Regions from separate parts of the Homo sapiens genome. Here regions 2 and 3 are each linked to region 1. The links are contacts of gene promoters, found by promoter capture Hi-C in human tissues and cell types (Jung and others, 2019). All regions are on one chromosome and are shown on one strand. The core of a region is centred on a gene start or on the middle of the fragment in contact, and the rest is flanking DNA. Distances in the headings are between cores, read along the strand shown. Region 1 holds the start of OR7A17 (olfactory receptor family 7 subfamily A member 17). Region 2 overlaps OR7C1 (olfactory receptor family 7 subfamily C member 1). Region 3 has its middle 16 kb from the start of OR7C2.

Evidence for each region. The method cuts DNA at HindIII sites, captures the fragments that hold promoters and counts their contacts. A contact is called where the count stands out against the background at its distance.
Region 2: a fragment that was not itself captured here is called in contact with the fragment with the promoter of OR7A17 in region 1 in 3 of the 25 tissues and cell types used here (aorta, liver and psoas muscle).
Region 3: a fragment that was not itself captured here is called in contact with the fragment with the promoter of OR7A17 in region 1 in 2 of the 25 tissues and cell types used here (H1 embryonic stem cells and adrenal gland).

What each region holds. Positions count from the first base shown.
Region 1 is chr19:14,883,934-14,887,704 of GRCh38, forward strand. OR7A17 (olfactory receptor family 7 subfamily A member 17) reads right to left here and starts at 2,199. Exons shown (of 3, transcript NM_030901.2): 1 at 2,008-2,199. It also overlaps the pseudogene OR7A18P. The HindIII fragment of the contact is 7,391 bases long and covers 1-3,771 here.
Region 2 is chr19:14,827,057-14,830,827 of GRCh38, forward strand. All of the region lies in intron 1 of OR7C1 (olfactory receptor family 7 subfamily C member 1), which reads right to left. It overlaps OR7A5 (olfactory receptor family 7 subfamily A member 5), which reads right to left. Exons shown (of 2, transcript NM_017506.2): 2 at 1-1,198. The coding sequence starts at 1,185. The coding sequence ends at 226. Among named protein-coding and RNA genes, the nearest start is that of OR7A5, 6.2 kb to the right of the region's middle. The HindIII fragment of the contact is 4,789 bases long and covers 1-3,771 here.
Region 3 is chr19:14,923,825-14,927,595 of GRCh38, forward strand. It overlaps the pseudogene OR7A15P. Among named protein-coding and RNA genes, the nearest start is that of OR7C2, 16 kb to the right of the region's middle. The HindIII fragment of the contact is 7,045 bases long and covers 1-3,771 here.

The DNA of each region.
Region 1 (3,771 bases), core at 949-3,448:
AATAAGTCAGGAAGTAAGTCCTAGTATATATGGGTATTAAAATATGACAAGATTGCAATCCAATTTAGTTGCAAAAGACCAGATTGTTGAATAAAAGCAGAAATAAATAGCTATCTACCTGGGAGAAAATGAAGTGTGTCTCCCGACTCACATTTTACAAAGAATTAGCAGATTTAAAGACCTCAGTGTAAAAGTCAGCAATATATGTTAGACGAATACATAGATAACTACATATAAGATCTTAGTGTAGACAAAGTATTTTAACTAACGCAAGAAAAAAAACTAAGAAAGTAGACATATTTTTAGGTAAATAAAAGTTAAAACTTTTTATGACCAAAAATGTTTCCTTAAATATTTCATTAACAGTCAATGAGGAGGGCAATATAATTGGATCACAGCTGTAATCCCAGTGCTTTGGGAGGCTGAGTAGGGAGGTCACCTGAAGCCAGGATTTTGAGAACAGCCGGGGCATCATAGTGAGAACCAGGCTCTAAAAAGTAAACCAAAAAAGTTAACGATCCCAAAGAAATACAAACTCCCATCAGAGAATACTATAAACACCTCTATGCAAATAAGCTAGAAAATCTAGAAGAAATGGATAAATTCCTGGACACATACACCCTCTCAAGACTAAACCAGGAAGAAGTCAAATCCCTAAATAGACCAATAACAAGTTCTGAAATTGAGGCAGTAATTAATAGCCTACCAACCAAAAAGAGGCCCAGGACCAGTCAGTTTCACAGCTGAATTCTGCCGGAGGTACAGAGAGGACCTGGTATCACTCCTTCTGAAACGATTTCAAACAATGGAAAAAGAGGGACTCCTCCCCAGCTCAATTTATGAGGCCAGCATCATCCTGATACCAAAACCTGGCAGAGACACAACAAAAAAAGAGAAAATTTCAGGCCAATATCCCTGATGAACATCAATGTGAAAATCCTCAGTAAAATACTGGCAAACTGAATCCAGCAGCACATCAAAAAGCTTATCCAGCATCATCAAGTCGGCTTCATCCCTGGGATGCCAGGCTGGTTCAACATATGCAAATCAATAAATGTAATCCATCACATAAATAGAACCAATGACAAAAACTACATGATTATCTCAATAGATGCAGAAAAGTCCTCCGATAAAATTCAACTCCCCTTCATGCTAAAAACTCTCAGTAAACTAGGTATTGATGGAACATAACTCAAAATAATCAGAGCTATTTATGACATACCCACAGCCAATATCATACTGAATAGGCAAAAGCTGGAAGCATTCCCTTTGAAAACTGGCACAAGACAAGTGTGCCCTCTCTCACCACTCCTATTCAACATAGTGTTGGAAGTTCTGGCCAGGGCAATCAGGCAAGAGAAGGAAGTAAAGGGTATTCAAATACAAAGAGAGGAAGTCAAATTGTCTCTGTTTGCAGATGACATGATTGTATATTTAGGAAACCCCATCGTCTCAGCCCAAAATCTCCTTAAGCTGATAAGCAACTTCAGCAAAATCTCAGGATACAAAATCAATGTGCAAAAATCACAAGCATTCCTATACAGCAATAATAGACAGAGAGCCAAATCATGAGTGAACTCCCATTCACAATTGCTACAAAGAGAATAAAATACCTAGGAATATAACCTACAAGGGATGTGAAGGACTTCTTCAAGGAGAACTACAAACCACAGCTCAAGGAAATAAGAGAGGACACAAACAAATGGAAAAACATTCCATGCTCATGGAAAGGAAGAATCAATATCTTGAAAATGGCCATACTGCCCAAAGTAATTTATAGATTCAATGCTATCCCCATCAAGCTAACATTGACTTTCTTTACAGAGTTACAAAAACTACTTTAAATTTCATATAGAACCAAAAAATAGCCCGTATAGCCAAGACATTTCTAAGCAAAAGGAACAAAGCTGGAGGAAATGATTGGCTCTCAGGTGACCTCAGGTTAATATTCACGGCTCTTGTTCTTCCTGACCTTTCCTACAGTACCCACTGGGCTCTGGGACTTACCCTACTGAGTTTTCTGAAAGGAAGGTCTCCATGGAGAAGTGTAAATTCCTCTCTAGCAGGTTGATGGTGGAGATGGAATCTCTGTCTCAAGACAAGGCATCAGGAAAAGTTGAAGCATCATCTATACTTGAGCCAGACTAAGGACTCCAAATGAAACCACCATGTCATTTCCAGCCCAAGGTTGCATATGCTGAGGGACTGCAGCAGAGGAGATATTTATGGCTTCGTATATCTGCTGATTAGATACCTTTCCTCCTGTTATTCCAACTCTGAACACATCAGTTTCCTGGGGGACGTTGCCCTGCACTGAAACAAATGTCATTGTTGTTTTTTTTTTCTGTATCGTCTATTCCCAAGACACTATGTTAAAAGTGAGGTGTATCCAGGCTTTATTACTCCTTCCCCGTGGACTTCCTTGGCTTCCAGAGTCCCATTCTCCTAGCACCTTCTCCCAGCCTTCAGTGAAAATTTCCTCCAAAGTCTAAACTGAGGAACCTGTCTTGACTAGGTCCCTTGAGTCTCCAAAGCACTGGCTTGTGATGGAAACTCAGCTCTTGACATATCCAGAAAATGGCAATTTACCTTTGCAAGGAGATGAACTGTGTTCTGTTCATATAAAACCATGGGTACTACATTTCTTGGCTTCATGTTGCTTTTGCCAAAACATTAGAATTTCATATATATATTTTTTTGAGATGGAGTCTTGTTGTATCACCTGAGCTGGAGTGCAAAAACATTAGCCGGGTGTGGTGGCAGTTGCCTGTAATCCCAGCTATGCAGGAGGCTGAGGCAGGAGAATTGCTTGAACCCGGGAGGTGGAGGTTGCAGTGAGCCAATATGGCGCCATTTCTCTCCAGCCTGGGTAATAAGAACAAAACTCCATCTCACTAAAAAAAAAAAAAAAAGTGTTAGAACAGGCAAGCAGGATCAACTGATTAAGTTCACAGAAAAAAATGGGGGGATTTCCAAGTTTGTGCAGAAGGACAGCTGCAACACATTCTGCTTTGCAGTGAGGAATTCAGGGCACTCATGCTCCAGGACACCAGAACCCACAGTCCAAAGATCCCAGGATTCATGATGACCCTGTAGTGCAGGGGGTGACAGATGGCCACAAAGTGGTCATAGGCCATCACAGTCTGCAGAAATACATTCATCCCTGCAAAGAGTAGGAAAAGTTTGTGATTCTGGAAAAGTTTCTTGGGAAAGGACATGCCTTGCTTCTCGGAGACAGAAATTTGTGATCATGAAGGGACACCTGCTTCCAGGGGTCCACACGGGGAGGAGATTGCATGAGTGTCCTTCCACGTCTGCTTTATTATACTCAGGGACATCTTCTCTGTCCTCCTCTGCCTGGCTCCAAAAATTCACATTAAAAATGTTTAGACTCCTTTTATTTTATTTTATGTTCTGGGGTACATATGCAGGATGTGCAGGTTTGCTACATAGGTAAACGTGTGCCATGGTGGTTTGCTGCACCTATCAATCCATCACCTAGGTATTAAGCCCCACAGGCATTAGCTAGTTTTCCTAAGGTTCTCCCTCCCCCCCACCCCACCCCCCAACAGGGCTCAGTGTGTGTTGTTCCCCTCCTTATGTCTATATGTTCTCATTGATCAGGTCCCACTTATAAGTGAGTGCATGTGGTATTTGATTTTCTGTTTCTGCGTTAGTTTGCTGAGGGTAATGGCTTCCAGCTTCATCCACGTTCCTGCAAAAGACATGAACTTGTTCCTTTTTATGGCTGCATAGTATTTCATGGGGTAT
Region 2 (3,771 bases), core at 913-3,412, 57 kb before region 1:
AATAACCTTGAGAAAGTAGGAAAACAACAAAGAGAAAAAACTGTTGGATATCAGAGAGCAGAAAGCTTAATAAAAGGAGTTGCTTAAATTCTACAAGACCAGTTGAAATCACAACAAATTGAAACTCCCAGAAATATAATAAGTATTAATAGAAGGAGCAAGTTCTATTTCCACTATCTGATTGAAGAATGACAGTTACTACCTCTGAAGCTTAGAGCCCTGCAATCATGGGCACTTCTTGAAAAATTGCCCTTTCATTGTTCCCCACAACAAATGTATTCCCAGAGCCCTCTTTATGTCTTTATTCCTCAGACTATAGATAAAGGGGTTCAGCATGGGGGTGACCACAGTGTACATCACTGAGGCTGTTGCACTTGAGTGTGAGTTGCGGGTGGCAGCAGAACTAAGGTACACCCCTAGGATTGCACCATAAAATAAGGAGACAACTGAGAGGTGAGATGCACAGGTGGAAAATGCCTTGTACTTCCCCTGAGCTGATGAGATTGCATGTATGGAAGAAATTATCTTAGAGTAAGAGTAAAGGATCCCAGTCAGGGGACCTCCACCCAGCAGCGCAACTGTAAAATATATCACCATGTGATTAAGAAAGCTATCAGAACAAGCAAGTTGGATGACCTGATTAAGTTCACAGAAAAAGTGGGGGATTTCTAAGGCTGTGCAGAAGGACAGCCGTACTACCATTAAGATTTGTAGCAAGGAATACAGAGCACTCATGGTCCAGGATGCTAGAACCAGCAGTCCACAGAGGTGAGGGTTCATAATGACCATGTAGTGCAGGGGGTGACAGATGGCCACAAACCGGTCATAGGCCATCACGGACAGGAGGAAGTTTTCAAATCCAGCAAAGAGTATGAAAAAATACATCTGCATGAGGCAGGCTATGTAGGTGATGACTTTGTTCTGTGTCTGGATGTTCATCAGCATTTTTGGAATGGTGGTGGAAGTAACACAAATGTCAGCAAAGGACAGGTTGGAGAGGAAGAAGTACATGGGGGTGTGGAGGTGGGAGTCTGAGATTGTGGCCAGGATGATGAGCAGGTTCCCGAGCACAGTGACCAGGTACATGGACAGGAACAGCCCAAAGAGGAAGGGTTGCAGTCCAGGTTCTTGTGAAAATCCCAGAAGAAGAAATTCTGAAATTTGTGTATCATTTCCTGGTTCCATTTGATTGAAGTGACTATCAGAGAGAGAGAGAGAAAGAGGGAAACGAGACAGGCATGCATTGCTAACCTTTCAGAAATACCATCATTTATATTTTATAGCCAATAAATTATCTTACATTTTGTGTATGAATCTGGTTCTCTTTAAGGGATCTCCATGTCATCTCTGATTAGGAACTCCTTCCCACTCTCAGCCTTAACTGAAGACAGCGTACATTCTGCAGTTAGAATAAGAACTTCTGGCTGGGCACGGTGGCTTATGCCTGTAACCCCAGCACTTTGGGAGGTCAAAGCAGGCGGATCACGAGGTCAAGAGGTTGAGACCATCCTGGCCAACATGGTGAAACCCTGTCTCTAGTAAAAATACAAAAATTAGCCTGGTGTAGTGGCATGCGCCTGTAGTCCCAGCTACTTGGGAGGCTGAGGCAAGGAGAATCTCTTGACCCCGGGAGGCAGAAGTTGCAGTGAGCTGAGATCATGCCACTGCACTCCAGCCTGGTGACAGAGCGAGACTCCATCTCAAAAAAAAAAAAAAAAAAAAAAAAAAAAAGAATGAGAACTTCTTCTATGAATTTGAGGAATATAAATTGAATGTTGACCATGTTCTTGTCACTGTCTAGATAATGAGTGAACAATGCTGAGAAACAAAAGTCCCTACAATCTAATGATGAAGAAAGAATATAAACAAATTAAACAATCGAATATAAACAAATTAAACAATCACATAATATGTCAGATGGGAACAGGCGCTTGGAAAATAAACAAAGCAGGTAAAAAGGAGGGAGGGTATGAAGTGTTTCTTTTGTTTTTTGTTTGTTTGTTTGCTGATTATTATTCAAGACCTGCAAACAAGGTGATGTTTGAAAAAAGATCTCAAGGAAGACAGGGCAAGATTCATGAAGTTATCTGTTGAAGTGGGTGCCTGGCAGGAGGAATGGCAGTACAAAAACTTTGAGGGATGTGCTTCTTTCTTGTTTTCTTTTTTGAGACAGAGTCTCGCTCTGTTGCCGGGCTGGAGCGCAGTGGCGCAATCTCAGATCACTGCAACCTCCACCTCCCAGGTTCAAGCGATTCTCCTGCCTCAGCCTCCCGAGTAGCTGGGATTACAGGCATGCACCACCACGCCCAGCTAATTTTGTATTTTTAGTAGAGACGGGGTTTCTCCATGTTGGTCAGGCTGGTCTTGAACTCCCAACCTCAGGTGATCCGCTCACCTCGGCCTCCCAAAGTGCTGGGATTATAGGCATGAGCCACTGCACCTGGTTGGGACGTGCTTCTTTCAGATGTTCAAGTCCAACACAGAAGCCAGTGTGGCCAGGGAATCAGTAAGACGGAGAGTGATGGGACATGGTGTCAGAGGATGTTGCAGAATAAGGGGACCTGGCTGTCAAAACATCAAGGGACAAAGTGTCCATCTGTCTAGATGCTGTTGCACCTGCACTTTATTAACTGGACTAGAAAGGTGTCACATCAATTGAAATGCATCCCCTCTTTATTTCCTTCTGGTGTCTTGGGTTCTGGCCTCTGTTTCATTGGTCTCCTTTATAATAAAATATATTGAGGCCAGGTCCCTCTTGCTCTGAAACCTGCTGTCACTCCAAAGACATGCAGCCACACACTCACTCACACACACATATACACATGCAGCACACTGGCCGAAGAGGGCCCAGGCAGGAGTGCAGTGGTGTGATCATAGCTCACTGCAGCTTCAACCACCCAGGCTCAAGCCATCCTCCTGCCTCAGCCTCCCAAGTAGTTGGGACCACAGCCATGTGCCGCCACCCTTGGCTGATTTCTACATTTTTTGTGGAGACCAGGTCTGCCTATGTTGCCCAGGCTGGTCTTGAACTCCTGGCCTCAAGTGAACCTTCCACTTTGGCCTCCCAAAGTGCTGGAATTACAGGCATGAGCTACTGCATTTGGCTCAAGGAAAGCTTTTAATATCAGATTCTTTTTTCCCTACAGAATGTAGAATTGGTACAAGAAATTCCAGTTCACAAGTCTGTATACACATGTAAACTTGGACTTCCATTTTGGTATGACTGTTTTCAGCCCTGTGTTTAAAGAAACATAAAAGAGCTGTTCAATAAACAGAGTGAGAGAAATTAAACAGACCCCAGTAAGGAAAAAGTCTAATAAACTCAGGTAATCCCTCAGCAAAAGGACAAAAATACATTGCAAGGGTGCAACGGGTAGGTTAGCAAGAAAGGAACTGACTCCAAGGAGACAAAGGCTTGCTGGGGATCTTATAGGATGGAAAATAAAAGCGACCCTGGTTATGGTTACATTTCAGCTTCCATTGTATCTCCTCGATGCCTGGCAAAATAAATAAAAGATCAAAAATAAAGAATTCTGACATCTTTATTGACTTCATGGTTTTTAATTTAACAATAGTATTTAATTATGTCGGTTTTAATGATTATTAAAGTTTTAGCTTTCCTTTTGGAACTAGAAATAAGTAAATAAAGTTATCCAAAAGACAAGACTGTGGAGTCCTAATTAGGGAAATGGAGTCAGGCTGGCTGAAGCAGGGAAAAACAAAAAGAGAAGATAGATAAGCTCTAAGTCTGCCTTTCTTCATGGTCCAGGA
Region 3 (3,771 bases), core at 709-3,208, 40 kb after region 1:
TTAGCTCCTACTTATGAGTGAGAACATACAATGTTTGGTTTTCCATTCCTGAGTTACTTCACTTAGAATAATTGTCTCCAGCTGGGCGCAGTGGCGCATGCCTGTAATCCCAGCACTTTGGGAGGCTGAGGCGGGCAGATCACCTTCGGTCAGGAGTTCGAGACCAGCCTGGTCAACAGGGTGAAACCCCATCTCTACTAAAACTATAAAAATTAGCCGGGCGTGGTGGCAGGTGCCTGTAATCCCAGCTACTCAGGAGGCTAAGACATGAGAATCACTTGAACGTGGGAGGTGGAGGTTGCAGTGAGCTGAGATCATGCCATTGCACTCCAGCCTGGGGGAAAAGAGGGAGACTTTGTCTCAAAAAAAAAAAAAAGAATAATTGTCTCCAATCTCATCCAGGTCACTGCGAATGCCATTAATTCATTCAAGCAAGCTATTTCTTCTTCCTAGTCTCCCAGGAATTATCTGAGGTTATTAGATTTTCCCCCCTTGGGTTTTATTTAATTATCCTCTGTATGTTTATCAAGCAAAATTGTTGTATTTTTATAATTTTTTATGTTTTTTTAAACAGAAGACAGAACATGACCATACAAAAAAATGGAAAGATAATCTGATATTGAAAGCTTGCTTCATTTCCATTCCTCTCTAATATTAATGGTGTGACTGGAGGTGAGAACAGCTTGCTATAAACACAGTCCCAGGAGTCCTCATTCAGCTTCAAGTGTGTGCCTGTGTGTGTGTCTGTACTAATTGTGCATATGTGTGTCTGTCTTTAGTGGGGAGAGTGATTTCAAAATAACATCATTAAACAGAATTGAAAGGAGCCTTGCTAATTAACTGAAACAAGATATGAAGTAGCAATAATTTAATGTTTTCAACATGGATAAATAATTAAAGTTGCAAAGACCTAGGCATAAAAGAATATGACATACAAATGAGGTAGAGATATCCCTTTTAAGAGTAGAGGGACGCAGTGGCTCACGCCTGTAGTCCCAGTACTTTGGGAGGCCGAGGCAGGCAGATCACGAGGTCAGGAGATCGAGACCATCCCGGCTAACATGGTGAAACCCTGCCTCTACTAAAAATGCAAAAAAATTAGCCGGGCGTGGTGGCGGGCGCCTGTAGTCCCAGCTACTTGGGAGGCTGAGTCAGGAGAATGGTGTGAACCTGGGAGGCGGAAGTTGCAGTGAGCCGAGATCGCGCCACTGAACTCCAGCCTGGGCAACAGAGCGAGACTCCGTCTCAAAAAAAAAAAAAAAAAAAAAAAAAGTAAAGGGACCTGGACTCAATATATTCCAAAAGGTGACTCAGAATACAGAGGTCAGCACGCAAGGCAGCATATGGAAATAAACAAAGGATGCATTTCAATTCATGGGACATGGAGCCAATTTATTAAAGTGCAAATAGAAAACATCAGGACAAGCCTGGGCGTGGTGGCTCACGCCTGTAATCCCAGCACTTTGGGAGGCCGAGACAAAAGGATCACTTGAGGTCAGGAGTTTGAGACCAGCCTGGCCAACATGGTGAAGCCCCATCTCTACCAAAAAATATAAATCTTAGCAGGGCATGGTAGCAGGCACCTGTAGTCTCAGCTACTTGGGAGGCTGAGGCAGGAGAATCTCTTGAACCCAGGAGGTGGAGGTTGCAGTGAACCCACATCATGCCACTGCACTCCAGCCTGGCCGACAGAGTGAGACTCTGTCTCAAAACCAAACCAAACCAAACAAAATCTGGGCAGAGGGACTTCTTGTATTTTGAAGCTTCAGCAGCAATGAAGTCACCTCATAGTGCAACATCTTCTGACACCATCTCCCATCACTTACCTCTCACAGATTTCCCTGCCACACTGGCTTCCTCGTTGGCCTTGAACATCTGAAACCTTCCTCTACACCTTTGCACCGGCCATTCTTTCTGCTGGGCACACACATTCCCAGATATCCTCATGGCTCCCGCCCTGTCTTCCTTGAGGTCTCATTTCTCTTTTTAAAAATTTCAGCTTTTCTTACAGATTAAAGGGTACATGTGCAGGTTTGTTACACGGGTAAATTGTGTGATGCTGAGGCTTCGGGTCCTAACAATCCCATCACTCAGGAGGTAAGCATAGGACCCAACAGATGGTTCTTCAGCTCACATCCCCCTCCCTCCATCCTCTGTCCAGCGGTCTCCAGTGTCAATTGTTCCCATCTTTGTGTTCACGTATATTCGATGTTTAGCTACCATTTATAAGTGAGAACATGCGATATTTGGTTTTCTGTTCTTGCATTAGGTCGCTCAGAATAACGGCCTCTAGCTTCATCCATGTAGCTGGAAAGGACATGATTTCATTCTTTTTTATGGCTGCCTAGTATTCCATGGTGTATAAGTACCACAGTTTCTTTGTCCAATCCACTATTGATGGGCACCTATCACCTTGACTGCTAGTATTCTCTGGACACCTAGGAAAATTAACATCCTCTATCCACCCTCGCCTTTTTACCTTCTTTCTTTTTCTTGCTAGCCCTGGTTACCATCTGACACAGTATATGATTTACTTGTATTCTTCTCCATACTTCACTGTAGGAACTTTTGTTTTTCAGCACTGTTCACTCATTGTCTAGACAGAGCCTGGAACGTTGACAACACTCAATTTAAATTCCTCAAATCCATGAAAGAATTTATCATTAAAGTATTGGTTTTTGTTTTGTTTTGTTTTGTTTTGTTTGAGATGGAGTTTTGCTCTTGTAGCCCAGGCTGGATGGAGTGCAATGGCGCCATCTTGGCTCCCTGCAACCTCTGCCTCTCAGGTTCAAATGATTCTCCTGCCTCAACCTCCCGAGTAGCTGGGATTACGGGCACGCACCACCACATCCGGCTAACTTTGTATTTTTAGTAGAGATGGGTTTTCTCCATGTTGGTCAGGCTGGTCTTGAACTCCCGACCTCAGGTGACCCGCCCACCTCTGCCTCCCAAAGTGCTGGGATTACAGGTGTGAGCCACCGCACCCGGCAAAGTTTTTAAATAAATGACCATTTGGGGAAAAGTTGAGCATCATGGGAAAGGAATTCCTAAGCAGAGATGGGATGGGAGATCTCATAAAGTAGACCAGATTCACACACAAAATATAGAAATTAACTTGCTGACTGTAGGATATAAATAATAGCTTTTCTGATGGGTGAAAAAAGCATGCTTATGTCATGTATTTTCTCTCTCTCTCTTTTTTTTTTTTTTATAGTCACCTCTACCACATGGAACCAGAGAATGATACACGAATTTCAGAATTTCGACTTCTGGGATTTTCAGAAGAACCCAGACTGCAACGATTTCTCTTTGGTAAAAGGCAAAAGATTTATACAATTTGAAGAGAAACCAGAGCATAACGATTTCTCTTTGGAGTGTTCTTATCCATGTACCTCATCATTGTATTTGGAAACTTGCTTATCATCCTGGTTATCATTTTATGCTCCCACCTCCACACCTCCATGTACTTCTTTCTCTCCAACCTGTCCTTTGTAGACATCTGTTTTGCCTCCACCAGGGTCCCAAAGATGCTGGTGAATATCCAGGCACAGAGCAAAGTCATCACCTCTGCAGGCTGCATCACCCAGATGTACTTTTTCATACATTTTGTAGGATTGGACAGCTTCCTCCTGACTGTGATGGCCTATGACCGGTTTGTGGCCATCTGTCACCCCCTGTACTACACGGTCATCATGAACCCTCAACTCTGTGGATTGCTGGTTCTGGTATCCTGGATCACAAGTGTCTTGCATTCCTTATTACATAGCTTAA